4 separate regions of the Homo sapiens genome follow, and regions 1, 2 and 3 are each linked to region 4. The links are contacts of gene promoters, found by promoter capture Hi-C in human tissues and cell types (Jung and others, 2019). All regions are on one chromosome and are shown on one strand. Each heading gives the region's core, a stretch centred on a gene start or on the middle of the fragment in contact. The rest is flanking DNA. Distances are from core to core; before and after follow the strand shown.

The links. Contacts are between HindIII fragments. The study calls those that stand out against the background at their distance.
Region 1: a fragment that was not itself captured here is called in contact with the fragment with the promoter of SH3BP2 in region 4 in 1 of the 25 tissues and cell types used here (mesendoderm cells).
Region 2: a contact is called between a fragment that was not itself captured here and the fragment with the promoter of SH3BP2 in region 4, in 1 of the 25 tissues and cell types used here (spleen).
Region 3: a contact is called between a fragment that was not itself captured here and the fragment with the promoter of SH3BP2 in region 4, in 1 of the 25 tissues and cell types used here (H1 embryonic stem cells).

Annotation. Positions count from the first base shown.
Region 1 is chr4:2,528,035-2,533,199 of GRCh38, reverse strand. No RefSeq gene overlaps it. Among named protein-coding and RNA genes, the nearest start is that of FAM193A, 6.0 kb to the left of the region's middle. The HindIII fragment of the contact is 7,357 bases long and covers 1-5,165 here.
Region 2 is chr4:2,488,075-2,493,079 of GRCh38, reverse strand. RNF4 (ring finger protein 4) reads right to left here. Exons shown (of 8, transcript NM_002938.5): 2 at 2,578-2,743. The coding sequence starts at 2,586. Among named protein-coding and RNA genes, the nearest start is that of RNF4, 21 kb to the right of the region's middle. RefSeq lists enhancers at 2,766-3,546, 4,898-5,005. The HindIII fragment of the contact is 4,826 bases long and covers 53-4,878 here.
Region 3 is chr4:2,379,990-2,384,871 of GRCh38, reverse strand. All of the region lies in intron 1 of ZFYVE28 (zinc finger FYVE-type containing 28), which reads left to right. Among named protein-coding and RNA genes, the nearest start is that of ZFYVE28, 36 kb to the left of the region's middle. The HindIII fragment of the contact is 4,819 bases long and covers 299-4,882 here.
Region 4 is chr4:2,791,507-2,796,789 of GRCh38, reverse strand. It overlaps SH3BP2 (SH3 domain binding protein 2), which reads right to left and starts at 3,705. Exons shown (of 13, transcript NM_001122681.2): 1 at 3,652-3,705. RefSeq lists a silencer at 3,638-3,987. The HindIII fragment of the contact is 44,064 bases long and covers 1-5,283 here.

The DNA.
Region 1 (5,165 bases), core at 1,181-3,680, 260 kb after region 4:
AGCAAGCAAGCAAAAAAAAGAAAAAGTTGATCTCATAGAAGTAAGAGAGTAGAACAGTGATTTCTTTATTTTTTGTTTATTTATTTATGTATTTTGAGACAGAGTTTTGCTTTTGTTGCCCAGGCAGGAGTGCAATGGCCTGATCTTGGCTCACTGCAACCTCCCCGCCTCCTGGGTTCAAGTGATTCTTCGCCTCAGCCTCTCAACTAGCTGGGACTACAGGCACGCGCCACCACACCTGGGTAATTTTTTTTTTTTTTTTTTTTGAGATGGAGTCTCGCTCTGTCGCTCAGGCTGGAGTGCAGTGGCGCGATCTCGGCTCACTGCAAGCTCCGCCTACCAGGTTCACGCCATTCTCCTGCCTCAGCCTCCTGAGTATCTGGGACTACAGGCGCCCGCCACCATGCCCGGCTCATTTTTTGTATTTTTAGTAGAGACGGGGTTTCACCATGTTAGCCAGGATGGTCTCGATCTCCTGACCTCGTGACCCGCCTGCCTCGACCTCCCAAAGTGCTGGGATTACAGGCGTGGGCCACCGCGCCTGGCCTACACCTGGGTAATTTTTGTTTTTGTTTTTGTTTTTGTTTTTTTTGAGTCAGGGTCTCACTCTGTTGCCCAGGATAGAGTGCAGGGCATGATCTCGGCTCACTGCAGCCTCTGCCTCCCAGGTCCAAGCAATTCTCCCACCTCTGCCTCCCAAATAGCCGGGATTACAGGTGCACCACCATGTCCGGCTAAGTTTTTAGTACAGACAGGGTTTCACCATGTTGGCCAGGCTGATCTCGAACTACTGACCTTGTGATCCGCCTGCCTAGGCTTCCCAAAGTGCTGGGATTACAGGCGTGAGCCACTGTGCCCAGCTTAGAATAGTGGTTTCTAGAGGTAGGGAAGAGTAGTGGGGAGAGGGAGATAGCCAAAGGTTGGTTAATGGATACAAAAGTACAGCTTGAGGCTGGGCGCCTTGGCTCACTCCTGTAATCCAGCACTTAGGGAGACCGAGGCGGGCGGATCACCTGAGGTCAGGAGTTTGAGACCAGCCTGGCCAACATGGTGAAACCCCGTCTCTACTAAAAATACGAAAATTACCTGGACATGGTGGCACACGCCTGTACTCCCAGCTACTTGGGAGGCTGAGGCAGGAGAACCACTTGAGCCTGGGATATGAAGGTTGCAGTGAGCTGAGATTGTGCCACTATAGCCTGCCCAAGAGAGCAAGACTCTGTCTCAAAAAAAAAAAAAAAAAAAACAGTACAGCTTTGTAAAAGAAATGAGTTTAGTGTTCTATGGCTGGCACTATAGGGTGACTGTAATTAACAAAAATTTACTGTATATTTTCAAATAGGCAGAAGAGTAGATTATGAATGTTCGCAACACAAGGAAATAATAAATGTTTGTGGTGATGGATATGCTACTCTGATCATTACACATTCTATACATGTATCAAATTATCACACTGTACTTCATAAATATGTACAATTATATGTCAATGAAACATAATAAGGGCAAAATAAAAAGAATTTATATAACAAAAACGTTTTTAAAATAATGCATTCTTTGGCCAGGCACAGTGGCTCACGCCTGTAATCCCAACACTTTGGGAGGCTGAGGTGGGCGGATCATGAGGTCAGGAGATCAAGACCATCCTGGCCAACATGGTGAAACCCCGTCTCTACTAAAAATACAAAAATTTAGCCAGGTGTGGTGGCAGGCGCCTGTAGTCTCAGCTACTTGGGAGGCTGAGGCAGGAGAATCGCTTGAACCCAGGACGCGGAGGTTGCAGAGAGCCGAGAGCGCACCACGGCACTCCAGCCTGGGCGACAGAGTGAGACTCCATCTCAAAAAAAAAAAATTCCTTTTCATTGCTCAGTGGTATTCCACTGCATGGATGTCTCATAGTTTGTTTATACATTTATCTGTTGATGAATATTTTGGTTGTTTCCAGTTTTTGGTTATTACAGTTACTATCAACATTCATAAATTAAAAAAACCGAAAAACAAACAAACAAAAACACCAGAACATTCATGTACAAGTCATCATATAAACACGTTTTCATTTCTCTTAAGTAAACACCTAAGAGTGGTCATATGGAAGAGATATGCTTACCTTTTTTTTTTTTTTCTGAGAAAGAGTCTCACTCTGTCACCCAGCTGGAGTGCAATGGCACAATCTCAGCTCACTGCAACCTCTGCCACCTGGGTTCAAGGGATTCTCTTGCCTCAGCCTTCTGAGTAGCTGGGATTACAGGCACCTGCCACCACACCAGGCTAATTTTTTTGTATTTTTAGTAGAGATGGGGTTTCACTGTCTTGGCCAGGCTGGTCTTCAACTCCTGACCTCGTGATCCACCCACCTCGGCCTCCCAAAGTGCTGGAATTACAGGCATGAGCCTTTTTTTTTTTTTTTTTCTTGAGATGGAGTCTCGCTCTGTCGTCCAGGCTAGAGTGCAGTGGCGCTATCTCGGCTCACTGCCAGCTCTGCCTCCCAGGTTCATGCCGTTCTCCTGCCTCAGCCTCCCGAGTAGCTGGGACTACAGGTGCCTGCCACCGCACCTGGCTAATTTTTTTGTATTTTTAGTAGAGACGGGGTTTCACTCTGTTAGCCAGGATGGTCTCGATCTCCTGACCTTGTGATCCGCCGGCCTCGGCCTCCCAAAGTGCTGGTATTACAGGCGTGAGCCACTGCACCCGGTCCAACTTTATTATTTTATTGTTTATTTTGAAATGGGATCTCACTCTACCACCCAGGCTGGAGTGCAGTGGCTCAATCACAGCTTACTGCAGCCTGGACCTCCCAGGCTCAAGTGACCCTCCCATCTCAGCCTTCTGAGTAGCTGGGACCACAGGCACCTATCACTATGCCCAGCTATTTTTTTATTTTTATTTTTGTAGAGATGGGGTCTCACTATGTTGCCCAAGCTGGTCACGAACTCCTGGGCTCAAGTGATCCTCTGCTATGGCCTCCCAAAGTGCTGGGATTGCAGGCGTGAGCCACTTCATCCAGACTATTCTTTCCAATGTTGTTTTGCATATTCATATTCATATGAAATTCCTGTGAATTTCATGTGAATTTGAGAATCAGCTTGTCAATTTCTTTAAAAAAATCTGGTCAATTTTAACAAAGATTGTGGTAATGTACAGATGAATTTGTAGATAGTGATATCTAAACATTATTGCATCTTCCAGTTCGTGAGCTATATTTATATACATTTATTTAGTCTTAGCAATGTTTTGAGGTTTAGTGTACTTGCCTGACACATCTTTTGTCAGACTTATTCCTATGTATTTCATATTATTTTATGCTAAACTCTCCTTTTGTTTAGTTTTGCATTTTAAGAAATTGTTGGCCAGGTACAGTGGCTGACACCTGTAATTCCAGCACTTTGGGAGGCTGAGGCTGGCAGATCACAAGGTCAAGAGATAGAGACCATCCTGGCCAACATGGTGAAACCCCGTCTCTACTAAAAATACAAAAAATTAGCTGGATATGGTGGCGCGCACCTGTAGTCCCAGCTACTCAGAAGGCTGAGGCAGGAGAATCACTTGAACCTGGGAGGTGGAGGTTGCAGTGAGCCAAGATCAAGCCACTGCACTCCAGCCTGGCAACAGAGTGAGAAACCGTCTAAAAAAAAAAAAGAAAAAAAAAGAAATTGCTATAAAATATGTATAATACAAAACTTACTTTTTTTCTTTTTGAGACGAAGTCTCACTCTTGTCCCCCAGGCTGGAGTGCAATGGTGCGATCTCAGCTCACTGCAACCTCCACCTCCTGGGTTCAAGCAATTCTCCTGCCTCAGCCTCCCAAGTAGCTGGGATTACAGGCACCTGCCACCACGCCCGGCTAATTTTTGTATTTTTAGCAGAGACCGGGTTTCACCATGTTGGCCAGGCTGGTCTCAAATTCCTGACCTCAGGTGATCCGCCCGCTTCGGCCTCCCAAAGTGCTGGGATTACAGGTGTGAGCCACCACATCGAGCCAAAACTTTTTTTTTTTTTTGAGCTGGAGGCTTCCTCTGTTGCCCACACTGCAGTGCAGCAGCGCAATCTCTACTCACTGCAACCTCCGCCTCCCGGATTCAAGCGATTCTCCTGCCTCAGCCTCCCTAGCAGCTGGGATTACAGGTGCACGCCACCACAGTCTGCCAAGTAGCTGGGACTACAGGCTCGTGCCACCATGCCTGGCTAAGTTTTTGTATTTTTAGTAGAGATGGGATTTCACCGCATTAACTAAGATGGTCTCGATCTCCTGAGCTCGTGATCCACCCACCTTGGCCTCCCAAAGTGCTGGGATTACAGGTGTGAGCCACAGTGCCTGGCTTTTTCTTTTTCTTTCTTTTTTTTTTGTTGAGATGGTGTTTCGCTCTTGTTGCCACAGGCTGGAGTGCAATGGCGTGATCTTGGCTCACCGCAACCTTCACCTCCTGAGTTCAAGCAATTCTCCTACCTCAGCCTCCCGTGTAGCTGGGATTACAGGCATGCACCACCACGCCCGGCTAATTTTGTATTTTTGGTAGATACGGGGTTTCCTCATGTTAGTCAGGCTGGTTTTGAACTCCTGACCTCAGGTGATCCGCCCGCTTCGGCCTCCCTAATTTTTGTAGTTTTAGTAGAGACAGGGTTTCACCATGTTGGCCAGGCTGGTCTCTATCTCCTGACCTTGTGATCCACCCACCTCAGCCCTCCAAAGTGCTGGCATTTCAGGCATGAGCCATCGTGCCCAGCCAAAACTGACTATTTTAATCATTAAGTGTACAACTCCGTGGCATTATCTATATTCAGAATGTTGGGCAACTTTTACCACTATTTTCAGAACTTTTTTTTATCATCTCAGACAGAAATTCTGTAGCCATTAAACAGTAACTTTACATTCCCCCTACCCTCAGGCTGTGGTAACCTCTACTGTTTAAATTTTTCATTTATTGTTTTTTAGAGAGAGCGTCTTGCTCTGTCATTCAGGTTGGAATGCAGTGGCACCGTTCATGGCTCACAGCAGCCTTGACCCCCTGGGCTCAAGCAATCTTCCCATGTGAACCCCTGGAGTACGTAGGCCATTTATATACCTTCTTTGGAGAAATATCTATTTAAGTCCTTTGTCCATTTTCAAATTGGGTTGTCTGTGGTTTTTTTGTTTGTTTGTTTGTTTTTTGAGATGGAATCTTGCTCTGTTG
Region 2 (5,005 bases), core at 1,216-3,715, 300 kb after region 4:
AGAGCTCCCCACTCTGGCCCTCCCATAATTCTGGTCATAATTCTCTTCCTTTTCACTAGCAGGGCCCTCAGAGGTCCATAGCTTTTGGTGAAAACTGACCATCCTATCACAACCACATAAGCTATAACCACACCGTAACTTTCAGGAATTTTAACCAATTTCTTCACACACATGCACAAAAGGCTACATTGTTTTGCCTGTTCTGATCTGGCCTAAGCAGAGATGGGTTAAGGCTTAAAGCACCTATTTCCCCATAGGTGAGCTACATGGTAACCTGCAGGTGAAGCACCAAGGTGGGAGGTCAAAGAAGTGGGCTTTTTTGTGTATCACCATCAAAAGTGGGCCCTGGAGCACAATGGCGGCCAGGAAGTAACAGAAGAGGGTGAGGACCCAAAAGGCTCAGAGGGTGTGACCAGCATTTCCATCACTGTTCCCTCTGACAGCTGTTTGTTCAGTCTCACCTGTCCCCACCATCCATCTTCCCATACCATTCACAGTACTTCTGGAGCACTGGAAGAAATCAGCAGGCTATTTCACATCTGGTCTGTCTGACAAGGAATTCAGGATCTCAGACAACAGATGTTTTGAGTTTAGATCATTTGAACAAACTTGCAGTGAGAACTCTGTCAGTAGAGAATAAACTGGGACAGGGGGACCTTCAGGTAATCTCCTCGAGAGCTCAAGGGGTTCCAGGAGACACCTGAATTACACCAAACCAGAGCTGTCTCACAGATGTGATAAAAGCTCTAAACAGTCTGGGTATTGTCGCTCACTCTGGGAGCCTAGGTGGGAGGACTGCTTGAAGCCAGGAGTTCAAGATCAGCCTGGGTAATAAAGTAAGACTCCATGCCTACAAAAATGATTTTTCTTTTTTTTTTTTTTGAGATGGAGTCTTGCTCTGCCCCCAGGCTGGACTGCAGTGGCACGATCTCAGCTCACTGCAAGCTCCGCCTCCCAGGTTCATGCCATTCTCCTGCCTCAGCCTCCTGAGTAGCTGGGACTACAGGCGCCCGCCAACTATGCCTGGCTAATTTTTTGTATTTTTAGTAGAGACGGGGTTTCACCGTGTTAGCCAGGATGGTCTTGATCTCCTGACCTCGTGATCCGCCCACCTCGGCCTCCCAAAGTGCTGGGATTACAGGCATAAGCCACCGCACCTGGCCAATTTTTTCTTAAAAATTGGCCAGGTGCGGTGGTGCATGCCTATGATCCCAACTACTCAGGATGCTGAGGTGAAAGGATTGCTTGACTCCAGGAGTTGGAGACTGCAGTGAGCTATGATCACACCACTGCACTCCAGACTGGGAGACTGAGTGAGACCCTGTCTCTTAAAAACAAATAAAAACGGCTGGGTGCGGTGGCTCATGCCTGTCATCCTAGCACTTTGGGAGGCCAAGATCACTTGAGGTCAGGAGTTTGAGACCAGCCTGGCCAACATGGTGAAATCACATCTCTACTAAAAATACAAAATCAGCTGGGTGTGGTGGTAGGTGCCTGTAATCCAAGCTACTCCGGAGGCTGAGGCAGGAGAGTCGCTTGAACCTGGGAGGCGGAGGTTGCAGCAAGCCGAGATGGTACCACTGTACTCCAACCTGGGCAACAGACTCCATCTCAAAAAACAAACCAAAATAGCCTGGCCAACATGGCAAAAACTGGTCTCTATTAAAAATACAAAATTAGCTGGGCGGGGAGGTGCATGCCTGTAATCGCAGCTATGTGGGAGGCTGAGGCACAAGAATCACTTGAACCCAGAACGTGGAGGTTGCAGTGAGCCGAGGTCGGGCCACTGCACTCCAGGCTGGGTGACAGAGCGAGACCCTGTTTCAAAAACAAACAAACAAAAGCGCTAAACAGTAATTATAATGACGAATCAACTTTGGTCAGTGAATATAAGAAACTTTTCACTATGGATTATTACTACCATGCTCACACTGAATGAACCAAGAATGTCACAGGGAAACAAAACAGACGGGAAAACAGAAAACTGGGTTGCAAATACTTTATAGAGTCTCACTCAGTCATCCTGCCGAAATGCAGTGGTGTGATCATAGCTAGCCTTGAACTCTTGGGCTCAAGGAATCTTCCTGCCTCAGCCTCCCAAGTAGCTGGGACTACAGGTGCGCCCCACCACGCCTGGCTACATTTTGTTTGTTTGTAGAGATGGGGCCTATGTTGCCCTGGCTGGTCCTAGGCTCAAGTAATCTTTTTACCTTCACGCCTCCAAGTGTTGAGATTACACATGAGCCACCATGCCCAGTCTACAAACAATTTTAAAAAGCAAAAAGTTTTAGTATTTCTATGACACTGACAACTGTTGTGAAGGTCTGAGATTACCAAACCCTAAGCTATTCCTTCTCAGCCTTTTGTCTTCAGGGCTCTGCCCTTTATGACTCGAATGTAGCTCAATGTCGGTAAGTAAGCTGATGTAACCACCAGAAAGCTCCTATACATACTCCTTCAAGAAGTGGGGTTACTTAGAAGTGACATTATGGAACTCACTTTCACTAATGTGCTACAAGGAATAAGGTAGTTAATTAGCCCTACAAAATTAAAAATTCAAGAGATGATAAAACTTACTGTACTCATTGTGCTCTTTGGTGCCTTTCCTTTCCTACAGAAAAGGAAGTGATCTATACCAAGGTTTGCAGGGAAGTCAAATGTTCTCAACCTTTCATGCCCTCTGGTTACTCATCTGGCTTGCAAAATAATTTGGATCCGGACAGATTTCCAGTATTTTCAAGTCCTGAAAAACAAAGATATTAATTTGATAAATACTGCCACTTACATCATTGAAACAAAGCTGAGCTCAATAATGTACTGGTCCTTCCTGTCCCTAGGTTATTTGCTTACTATTTCACGCAATGACATCCTTAATCCTATATTCATCTTAGGAAGTAAGCATTCTTGTCGCATGTAGGACTTCCTGATCCCAAAGCCTGCAATTGTAATTATTATGCCACCTCCTACTCTTCTTCCTGGCTCCTGCCACCTTGGCAAGGTACCGTGCTAACTGCTGGGAGGAGGTGCGAGTCAGGACTGCCACACATGACCACACCAACTCCTCAGGAACCAGAAGGGAAGGGACAGAGCTTCTGAGGCCACAGCTCAGAGCCTCAGGTTCTTCCCACAATTTCACTGTCGCCGTCCGGAGTTGAGAAGACAAGAGCCACTCACTCTAAAGCATGTTGTGTGTCCAGCTGAGACTTCTGTTGCTGGGACCAGGTGAATGGTGAATCGGGAGGCTGTGGACTAGGCAGCCAAGCAGAAGCTTTGAGGAAAGGCAGAGAAATCACCAGATGCAGAGGCTGCGAGGCCCTTGGACTTCACTGAGAAGCGAGGCCGACCACGGTAAACTCAGCGTCAGCGACGCATGGTTAATGGAGCCACAAAGCCCTGAGCACAGGCAAGCCTGAGGGTTGAGAGAGAGCCAAAGCAAGGACAAGACCCTTGTGGCCACCCACTGCTGGGTGCTAGTGGCTTAGATTAGGAGAGTGCTTCTCAAGCATGAGCCTGTATCAGGCTCCCCCACAGAGGGCTCGTTAAGCACAGCCTGCTAGGCCCTCCAATTTACGTATCTAACAAGTTCCCAGGTGCTGCTTCCAGAGACCACACCATGGAACGTACTGAAGTAGCATAACGAGATGGAGTTGCAAAACAGACACAGGTGAGAGGGATCCAGGTGGCGGAAACGACAGGAACGCTCTCACATCCACCCTTCTGTGCATCCCCAGTGCTGTGCCGTGTCATCCTCCTGTGCACCATTACCATGCCTGCTCATGCTGGGTCTCCTGTCCCTGGGTGCCCGTCTACCCTACTGCCAGGCCATCTTTCCGAAACATTTGCCGCAGCAACTTTCCCTGGCTCCTTATCAAGGCCTAACTCCTAAGCATGGTGTGTGGAGCCAGGCTGGCACTGCAATTAGGGCACATCTCTTGAGCCAGGCAACTGAGATTGAAATCCAGGCATCGGCCGGGTGTAGTAGCTCACACCTGTAATCCCAGCACTCTGGGAGGCCAAGGCGGGTGGATCACCTGAGGTCAGGAGTTTGAGACTAGCCTGGCCAATATGGTGAAACCCCGTCTCTACTAGAAAATACAAAAAATTAGCCTGGAGTGGTGGTGGATGCCTGTAATTCCAGCTACTTGGGAGGCTGAGGCAGGAGAATCTCTTGAACCTGGGAGGCAGAGGAGCCGAGATCATGCCATTACACTCCACCCTGGACAACGAGAGCAAAACTCCATCTCAAAAAAATAAATAAATAAATAAAAAATGAAAATAAAATCCAGGCACCTGCAAACCCCAACCTGTGACCTTGGGGCATGGCATTGAACTTCTCTGTGCCCCATTTCCTTATCTATAGAACAGAACTGCACCTACCTTAATGGTGTGTGAGGATTCCAGAAGTTATTACAAGAGAGTGTTTGGAACAGTGCAGGCACACTGGAAAGGCTCAGTGTCTGTGGGCTGACACATACCCATCACCACACTCAGCCCCACAGCACCAGGTTGGCAGTCTCTCCAAATAAACCTTCCCAGTGACCAGCTCCAACCTTCTGCTCAAGCCCTAAAATGCTGTGTGATATCACATCCCACTCAGTTTTTTTTTGTTGTTGTTGTTGTTGTTTTTGAGACGGAGTCTCACTCTGTTGCCCAGACTGGAGTGCAGTGGGCTCACTGCAACCTCCACCTCCCAGGTTCAAGTGATTCTCCTGCCTCAGCCTCCCAGTAGCTGGGACTACAGGCATGTGCCACCACACCAGGCTAATTTTTCTACTTTTAGTAGAGATGGGGTTTCCACCAGGTTGGCCAGGCTGGTCTCGAACTTCTGACCTCAGGTGATCCACTTGCCTCGGCTTCCCAAAGTGCTGGGATTACAGGCATGAGCCACCACGTCTGTCCTCCCACCCAGCTTTAAGAAAGGATGCATACCTCCCCGCCTCATTCACAGTACAGCCCCTGCCCTGGGAATACAGCAATGAGCAAACACAGCCTCTGTGCAGAATCT
Region 3 (4,882 bases), core at 1,459-3,958, 410 kb after region 4:
AAGAGTTCTGTGTGACTCCTTGTGCAGAGTGGGCTGAAGCTTGGGCAGGTGTCTCACACTCCAGGTGAGTGAGGTGGCTCCTGGCCTTTGTCTTCTTTTCCTATGCTGAATTAAATAAAGATTTTTCTGAAGTAATTCAGTCATTCATTTGTTCACAAGTCTTGGCTGTGTGTTTCCATGCTCCCCCTATGATCCTGGCAGGTAAGGCTGTTTCCCTCCCCACCTACCTTCCCACCGGGCCCTGAGGGGTCGGCCCTCTGTGCTTCTGCTCCCCCACCCCATCCAGCACTCCCTCAGGAGGAGATTCCTGCTTGGGTGCTGCCTGGTCCCTTCCCCTCCTCTCGTTCTTGCTTAAACTCACTCCTGCTCCCAAACTGCATTTGTCACGGTCCTGGTGGCCTGCCTGTGCCCCCTCCAGTGGTCAGTCACAGCCCTGTCCTGGGAAACCAGGCAGCTGGAGTGACCCTGGGCAGCCCTGAGCACTTGTTCACTCCCTTGGCGGGTGGTCACTTCCCTCTGACCCTTCTTGAATAACTTAATCTGTAGGGTACAGAAGCTTTCACACTTTCCTACAAAACCAGTTTCCTCTTCGCAGATAAAGGGAATTCCTTCCAGAAAGTTTCTTCTGTCAGCAGTGCAGTCTCGGTTCCTCAGCGTTTGTCGAAGTACCCGGGGAGGAGAGGGCTCTGTGGCATTGACTTTGGCTGACAGTCCCGGGGGCCTCTTCCCTGTGGGTAGAATGTGGGAACCCAACACTGCATCTACTCTGTGTACCCCAGTCCAAAAATCACTCTGCCTGTGTGGGACATGTGCCCTACCCTCTTGCCTGTCTTCCTCAAGGCCCTTCTTTGCAGAACAGCCCCAGTGGAGACACTTCAGGGTGATGGGGACATCTTAGGTCATCAGGGCATCATTGAGAGAGACTGTGAGTGATGACCCTGTGTGACGACCTCATTTTCTCCAGTCTTGTGAAAGAATGGCTCCTGGAGATGGCTCCTGGAGAGCGAGTGTCTGTAACACACGCCAGCGACACCACACACAGAGAAAGGCCCTTAGCCTTGTCTGTCAGGGTCTCTTAGGAATAGAATATTCTAGATCTGTGGAAGGCCTGCTGGAAAATCCCAACCAATGTGAAGCGTACCTCCTCCTTCCAGTGTGTGGCCTGCCATTCACTCCAGTCTGCACTGATGGTGCCAAGGCTTTGACACTTGAAGCGTGATATGAAAAGATAAAGGCATTTTAACAGAAGATACCGGGTCAGTGGAGGTGACCGAAAGCAGCATTTGATTCCCCAGGTCATCCTGGGCATTGGGATAAGTGCGCTGCCACTAAGGGAAAGGAGTATTAGTCTGTTTTCACGCTGCTGATAAAGACATACCTGAGACTAGGAAGAAAAAGAGGTTTAATTAGACTTGTAGTTCCACGTGGCTGTGGGGCAGGGGGCACCTCAGAATCATGGCGGAAGGCAAAAGGCACTTCCTGCGTGGAGGTGGCAAGAGAAAAATGAGGAAGATGCAAAAGTGAAAACCCCTGATAAAACCATCAGATCTCGTGAGACTTAGTCACCACCATGAGAACAGTATGGGGGAACCACCCCTATGATTCAATTACCTCCCACCAGGTCCCTCCCACAACATGTGAGAATTATGGGAGTACAATTCAAGATGAGATTTGGGTGGAGACACAGCCAAACCTTATAATTCCGTCCCTGGCCCCTTCAAATCTCATGTCCTCACATTTCAAAACCAATCATGCTTTCCCAACAGTCCCTGTTATGGCTTGGCTGTTTCCCCGCCAAAGTCGCAACTTGAATTATATCTCCCAGAATTCCCACATGTTGTGAGAGGGACCCAGGGGGAGGTAACTGAATCATGGGGGCTGGCCTTTCCCATGCTTTTCTCGTGATAGTGAATAAGTCTCAGGAGATCTCATGGGTTTATCAGGGGTTTCTGCTTTTGCTTCTTCCTCATTTTCTCCTGCTGCTGCCGTGTAAGAAGTGCCTTTTGCCTCCTGCCGTGATTCTGAGGCCTCCCCAGCCATATGGAACTGTAAGTCCAATTAAACCTCTTTTTCTTCCCAGTCTCCAGCGTGTCTTTATCAGCAGCCTAAAAATGGACTAATACAGTCCCCCAAAATCTTAACTCATTTCAGCATTAACCCAAAAGTCCACAGTCAAAAGTCTCATCTAAGACAAGGCAAGTACCCTTCTGCCTATGAGTCTGTAAAATCAAAAGCAAGCTAGTTACTTCCTAGATACAATGGGGGTACAGGTATTGGGTACATATAGCCATTCCAAATGGGAGAAATTAGTCAAAACAAAGGGGTTACAGGGCCCATGCAAGTCCGAAATCCAGCGGGACAGTCAAATCTTAAAGCTCCAAAATGATCTCCTTTGACTCCAGGTCTCACATCCAGGTCACCCTGGTGCAAGAGGTGGGTTCCCATCGTCTTGGGCAGCTCCACCCCTGTGACTTTGCAGGGTACAGCCTCCCTCCCAGCTGCTTTCACAGGCTGGCATTGAGTGTCTACAGCTTTTCCAGGCAAATGGTGCAAGCTGTTGGTGGATCTACCATTCTGGGGTCTGAAGGACGGTGGCCCTCTTCTCACAGCTCCACTAGGTGGTGCCCAGTAGGGACTCTGTGTGGGGGCTCCAACCCCACATTTCCCTTCCACACTGCCCTAGCAGAGGTTCTCCATGAGTGCCCCACCCCTGCAGCAAACTTCTGCCTGGGGATCCAGGTGTTTCCATGCATCCTCTGAAATCTAGTGGAGGTTCCCAAACCCTCATTGTTGACTTCTGTGCACTCGCAGGCTCAACACCATGTGGAAGCTGCCAAGGCTTGGGGCTTGCACCCTCTGAAGCCATGGCCTGAGTTCTGCATTGACCCCTTTCAGCCATGGCTGGAGCAGCTGGGACACAGGGCACCAAGTCCCTAGGCTGCACACAGCACAGGGACCCTGGGCCTGGCCCATGAAACCATTTTCCCCTAGGCCTCTGGGCTTGTGGTAGGAGGGGCTGCCCTGAAGACCTCTGACATGCTTTGGAGACATTTTCCCAGTTGTCTTGGGGATTAACGTTCAGCTCCTCATTACTTAAGCAAATTTCTGCAGCTGGCTTGAATTTCTCCTCAGAAAATGGGTTTTTCTCTTCTATCACATTGTCACAGCTGGATGCAGTGGCTCACGCCTATAATCCCAGCACTTTGGGAGGCTGAGGTGGGAAGATCATTTGAGGTCAGGAGCTTGAGACCAGCCTGGCCAATACGGTGGAACCCCATCTCTACTAAAAATACAAAAATTAGCCGGGCATGGTGGTGCGTGCCTGTAGTCCCAGCTACTCAGGAGGCTGAGTCAGGAGAATTGCTTGAACCTGGGAAGCAGAGGTTGCAGTCAGCCAAGGTCACACCATTGCACTCCAGCCTGGGTGTCACAGCGAGACTCTGTCTCAAAAACAACAACAACAACAAAAACTGTCAGGCTGCAAATTTTCCGAATTTTTATGCTTGGCTTCCCTTATAAAACTGAATGCCTTTAACAGCACCCAAGTCACTTCTTGAATGCTTTGCTTCTTAGAAATTTCTTCCCGCAGATACCCTAAATCATCCCTCTCAAGTTCAGAGTTCCACAAATCTCTAGGGCAGGGGCAAAATGCTGCCAGTCTCTTCGCTAAAACATAACAAGGGTCACTTTTGCTTCAGTTCCCAACAAGTTCCTCATCTCCACCTGAGACCACCTCAGCCTGGACCTTATTGTCCATGTTGCTATCAGGCATCTGGTCAAAGCCATTCAACAAGTCTCTAGGAAGTTCCAAATTTTCCCACATTTTCCTGTCTTCTTCTGAGCCCTCCAAACTGTTCCAACTTCTGCCTGTTATTCTCTTCCAAAGTTGCTTCCACATTTTCGGATATCTTTTCAGCAATACCCCACTGTACTGGTACCAATTTACTGTATTAGTCCATTTTCACCCTGCTGATAAAGACATACCTGAGACTGGGATGAAAAAGAGGTTTAATTGGACTTACAGTTCCACATGGCTGGGGAGGCCTCCGAATCACAGCAGGAGGCAAAAGGCACTTCTTACATGGCAGTGGCAAGAGAAAAATGAGGAAGATGCAAAAGCGAAAACCCCTGATAAAACCATCAGTCCTTGTGAGACTTATTCACACGAGAACAGTATGGGGGAAATCACCCCCATGATTCAAATTATCTCCCACTGGGTCCCTCCCACAACACGTGGGAATTACGAGAGTATAATTCAAGATGAGATTTGGGTGGGGACACAGCCAAAACATATCAAAAGGTGGCCCACAGGACCAAGGAGCGGACAATGCCAATGACAAATCCTTCAAACCAGGTGGTTTCTGCTGCTTTGACTTCAATAAAATTGAAGAAGGACTTGGTTGAGTTGCAGCTGACAGGGCGTTAAGAATGACTTTTGGTCATGAAGCAATGATTCTTAGCCGATAACTCGGCAGTTGTTCTTGGAGTGGCAGGAAGTTCCTCTATTGCTCTCCCCGCTCCTGCTAACTCAGCCATGAGAGCAGGTTTCTTGGCACTTACCTAAGTCAAAACGCAGGAACAGCATTGCAGCTGAGGCCAGCCTACTTTGGCAACTAGTGAGTTACCCAAAGAGACAACAGCTAGTCAGAAAACCCCGGATGCATCCACCCCATCAAGAACTACATTTCTATGAGACACCTTTCTGTGAAATGATGGTGTACCAAGATGTGTCACATGTTTATGTTGTTTGATCGATTGTATACTAATACTATTAGGTTGTTGCAAAAGTAATTGCAGTGTCTACATTGTCGACTCAGTGCAGAGAAAATGCTAACACTCAGTGCCTCACAGAAAATTTAAAAATTTGACCAGCCTGGGCAAC
Region 4 (5,283 bases), core at 2,456-4,955:
CCCTGGGGTGGGGAGCTGGCCTCCCTCTGCAGGCTTGAGCAGACAGGCACCCTACGCCCCACCCAGCTGCCTGGAGCAGGCTCAGCAGGAGCGCAGTAAACATCTGATTCACAAGGAAGCAGAGGGCACTTCTTGGAATCAGCTCAGCTACAGGGATGGGGGTATGGATACCACGAGGGCGCTCTGCCAACCCCTCAGGGCTCCTCTGATCTCCCCAGGCAACTGCTCCAGGTGGCCGAGCCCACATTCTTCCCAGAGGCCAGCTGACAAAGATGGACCAGATGTGACCGGAATCCATGAAGAAAGGGCCAGTCACCTCAGGGCGTTGGGGCCAGCAGTTCCAGCACGATCTGTGATCGGGGGCCGGGAAACCAAGCAGGGCCTGACCACTCTCATGGCCTTGGAAGTTACAGAGCCTGGGGAGAAGAGAGAAGGTTGGGGGAGGGCACCTTTCTCCCCTCCTGGGAGCCTGCACCACCTCGAACTCCTGTCTGACCCAGGTCTCCACCCGCCCCGAACCTGGGCACGTGCTTCTCTCGCGTCACCCTTGAAGGATGAGTGTAGTCAGGGGCCCGGCACGGAACCCAAATCCAGCAGCGTGGTCCAGAGCCAGGGACTTCTGTCATCCCGTTTTGCAGATCAGGAAACTGAGGGTCAGGAAGTGCAATTCGCCTACAAGGCTCAGGTCTCCTGGCCCGTGGCTGAGGGCCAGTCCCTTGCTCTTGGCACCATCCTGTCTACCCTCCCGTGCACAGGCCAAGGGGTGGTGAGGAGGGTCCAGTGCCCCAGGGAAGGGGGCCAGCCAGTGAGCCTGAAATGCTCCCTACCACCCCCTCTGGGACTTAGGCAGCCCACACGTGGGACTGTCTCCAGCCCCTCGGTGTCCAGACAGGGCCACCAGAAGAATGCAGAGGCCTTCTGGGGAGGAGCCGCCTATCCTGGAGGAAGGATTCCAGGGTCTGCACGGCCCCTTCTCCTTGCCTCCCAGGCCCCTCCATACCCTCACCACACCTGGCATGCAAAGGCCACTCCCGTCAAACTGGTCTCCCACCCTCCCTACCGCCCGCCTTTGGCTTAGTCTGTCTGTACCTGCATGGCTGCCCGCCCGGCTCAGATCCCTCCTCCTGACGGCCCACCCTGTATTCATTGGCCCGAGGGGTGGGAGCCGCTCCACTGCGTCTGGGGTAGGACAGCTCTCACCTTGTGGCAAATTCCCCGTCTTTTCCCCGCCAGCCTGCCCTTCTCCTCACCCACCCAGGCTGCACAGTGATGGCCAAGCCACCCGGTTATTAAAGAACTATATACTCTGCCAGGCGTGGGGGCTCACGCCTGTAATCCCAGCACTTTGGGAGGTGGGCAGATCATGAGGTCAAGAGAGGACAGAGAGTGAGGAGGGCAGAGCCTGCCACACATAGTCACTGACCTGGGGTGTCCCCACAAGGGAGCTTTTGAGGACAGAACGCAGGAAGACCCAGGGGCTGCCCAACACTGGCCACTCCTGATGGACTCAGGCCTTAGTCCAATGTGGGCAGGAACCTGGGAGCCTTGGCCTTTACCCAGGCCTCTCCAGGCCAGTCCCTGCCCCCACCCAAAACAGGACATACAGCGGCCCTGAGGACCAGGGAGAGCACCCTCAGCGACCCACTGTCACTGAATACCAAGCACATGTCACCACCACCACCATCCCCCCTACGGACACTCATAGCCACCCACCAGGTACAAAGTGCTTCACAGCCCTCAGGTCATGGATGAGAAAACGGAGGGGTGGCAGGGGGAAGCCTCCTGGCCATGATCACACAGCTGGAAACTGGTGGCATCTGAGTTCACACCCAAGATCCTGGCTGAGTTTGCGCCCTTCCTCCCTGCCCCTCAGGAACCAAGGCTGGCCATCTCGTCTCTCTGGGCCCCTGGACTTCCCGTCTGTGGGCCTGCTTGTGTGCGTGCATCCCTGGGGGGTGGGGAGCTCCAGCTGACTCAGCACCCTGCTTCCTCTGTCCATGTGGGCAGAAAGGGCCAAGGCAGGCCCAGAGCCTGTCCTCCCTCTGTCTGCCTCTTCAGGCCAGCCTCCTTGGTGGGCTCCCCCATGATCCTGGAGGCCTGGGGACTCCCTGAAAGGCCAGGTCCCCTGTCAGCACCCCTCTCACCAGATGGCCCTGGCTGGCAGTTCCTAGACACGGCTGCCTATCTGTCTTCCTTCTGCCTGCCCCCTCCAGGGTGTGCCTAACGCAGGGCACAGAGCCAGGCAAAGGGAGCCTGGCGGGTGGCAGGGAGAGGGGATAGACAGAATCCTCACTCCCTTGCAGCCCTCGTCCCAGGCCTCCTGTCCTGCCAGGAGTGGAGTGCCTGGAGTGGGGCCCTGAGGTTGGGCTCCAAGAGGGCCCTTCGACGGTGTCTACGTAGAGGAGACAGTGGACAGAGTGGGAAGAACCAGGAGGGGGTGGAGCCCAGCCCCTCCTCTGGTCCCACAGGGCCTGAGCCAGTGAGGGCAGGAGCTTGTCCAGGCTCATGGAGTTGGTGCAGGGCTGACCTGAACCCAGAGGCTTGCTTCGGCAAGGAGGAGGCTGTGGGCCCTGCCTTCAGGCGGTTGTGGAAACAATTCTACACATTGCATCACCGGCCCATGTCACCTGCAAGGCCACACACATGTCATCCAGGCAGGCTGTCCACCCCAGCAGCCCACACGGAGTACCCGCCCCTGGCCACAGCCAATTCGAAGGACTTAAGTGTGGCCACTAGACCAGGAGGCACAGCTGTCCCCAGTGTCAACAGATGAGCAAACTGAGGCACAGAGAGGGGATAGGAGGTGCTCACGGAAAGGAGCACCAGCAGAAGGCTCCCCACAGCAGGGCTCAGGCCCTCAATACCCCCAGGGAGCCGAGGCCCAGAGCAGCGGGAAAGTGCTGGGCTGCAGGGAGGCCAGCGTACAGGTGGAAGGGGCTGTCCCCGCCCCCTAACTCCTCCAGTCCCTCTGCCACCCCTGAGATTCCCTGTTGCCCATGAGAGTCTCAGACGCCCGGCTATCAGTCACTCACACTTCAGTGTGAATCAGCGCCAGTGGGCGGCTTTTCTTGCCCTCCGTGAAGCGCGGCCGCTGCAGAGGGAAGTTTGGATTCCGGGAAGGGCGGAGAGCGAGTGCCCGCCGCAGCCTTTGAGTCTTGTGGGGAGGGTCGCGTAAAGGGGCCCCGCCGCGGGGCCAGAGGGGCGCGAGGGGTGCGAAACAGACGCGTCGCACCGCCTCCCACCCCTGAGCCCCCGGCAAGGGACACCCGGCCCCCGCCCCGAAGCCGCGCTCCCTCGGGCACTGCCCGCCGTGCCCAGGCCCCGTGCGTCCTTTGGCAAGGACACGGAGGCCCCGGGGCCCGGGGGAGGCTGCTGCGCACCCGAGACCCCCGACACCCGCCCATACCTGCCGGGACCCTGAGACTCCCCCGAGACCTGCCAAGACCTGCCGGGACCCCTGAGACTCCCCGGAGACTCCCCCGAGACCCCCGAGACCCGCCGAGACCTGTCGGGACCCCGAGACTCCCCCGAGACCCCCGAGACCCGCCGAGAGCCCCCAGACCGCCAAGGCCCGCCGAGCCCCTTCCAGACGCGGAGACCGCCCCCCCGCGAGACCCCCGAGACCCGCCGAGACCCGCCGCCGAGGCTTACCCGCCGAGCGCTCTCCTGGCCCGCGGGCCCTGGGTCGAGGCGGCGGCTTGACTCGGCCGCCAGGCGCTCCCGCCCGCGGGACCCGCCGCCGCCGCAGCTCCGTCCCGCCCGCGCCCGCCCAGTCCGCCCTCCTCCTGGCCCCGCCCCGGCCCCGCCCCTCCCCGGCGGGTCCCGCAATCCTGGAGGTCCGAGCTGGGCGTGGGGCGGGGCCGGTACCTCAGGGTGGGCGGGGAACTGCACGTGGCCTCCGCGGCCCCGGGACGAGGCCCCTGGGGGGCGAAGACTGGCGTTGTCGCGGGCCTAGACGCCGGGTCCACAGTAGGTGCTTAGTTCTCGCCCGTGAGTGAGGTAGCGTGTCTGTCCCTCCTGCGTGTCCCTCCCAGTGACACCCCAGTGCCCAGCGACCCAGGTGGAAAGGGCGCTGTCCACCCCCCCAGCCCCGTGGTCCTGATCCTGGGCGGCCCCACCCCTGCCCCGTGAGTGCGACTTAGGCCCTGGCCAAGACAGGAGCAGGGGAGGTGGGGGAGGGCTTGCTGGGCACCAGGAAACCTTGTCTTTGTTTCCAAATGTCCTCCAGGGTACTTTTCAGGCACTTCCCAGGGGGACCTCGCCTCTTGGACCAGGTCTGGACTCCGGTGGCCCAGAGGTCGTCTTGGGGCTGGGAGGCACAGGAGACCGGGTGCTTTACACTTGGCCTCCTCTGAGGCTCCCTTTCCTCCACCATCACCCTCTCCCTAAGAGTAGGCCCAGATGCCTTGGTGTAAGGGCAGGGGCGAGAAGAGGAGGGGCTTCCTGGGAGGAAATGGCTTCCCTGGGGAGCTCTCAGGGCCAGGTAGGTGGAGGGAGCCGTGGAGAAAGTGAAGAGGCTGGGGAGACCAAGCTGGGCCTGCAGAGCTTGAGGGCGAGCGGACCCCCCACCAGTGCGGGAGTCAACTGCTTGGGGCGTGGGGGGACTCCTCCCCATGAGGAGTGGGGACTGGACCCCAGGTCCCAGAGCCCAGGAAGCTGTGAGTAGAGGAAGGACAGGATCTTGCTGGGAACCCAAGGGAGCTGGGGGTGGGTGGTGGTGACCTGGCCCTGTCCAGGCAGGCGGCCAAGGTCTGACCCTCTGTACTGAGCACAAGAGGCCAGAGTCCAATGACAGGGGCTGAATTGGCTGCTCCAAATCAGGCAGGGGCAGGGGTGTCCAGGGCTGGCCCTGCAGCAGGTGAAGGACTGGGTTTGGGTCCTACAGGTTGAAATACCTGAGGGCCTCCAGGAGACACAGCCAAACCAAGCGGGTTCTCAGGGTTGCAGCTGGACCGAGTGTGGGCCAAGTCACCGTCCACCTGTCCCAGAGCTGCCCAATAATGGGTCCCAAGCCTCAGAAAGGGGATCCCTGGCTGCAATAGCCCTCCTCCCTGCTGGAGAGACACACTTGGGATCAGAGAGGTTAACTGGGGAGGGGAGTAAGTGGGAGGAGTCAGAAAACTAGGTGGCCAGGCCCTGAGCCCAGGCATAGAGGAAGAGCCAGTGCCTACCAGGAAGTGACCAGGACCAAGGCAGGGCCTCTGGAAGGGAAGGGACAAAGCAGGGGATGGCAGAGGCAGGGGAGGATATGGGAGAGTCTTCAGACAACAGGGCCCCTTTTCC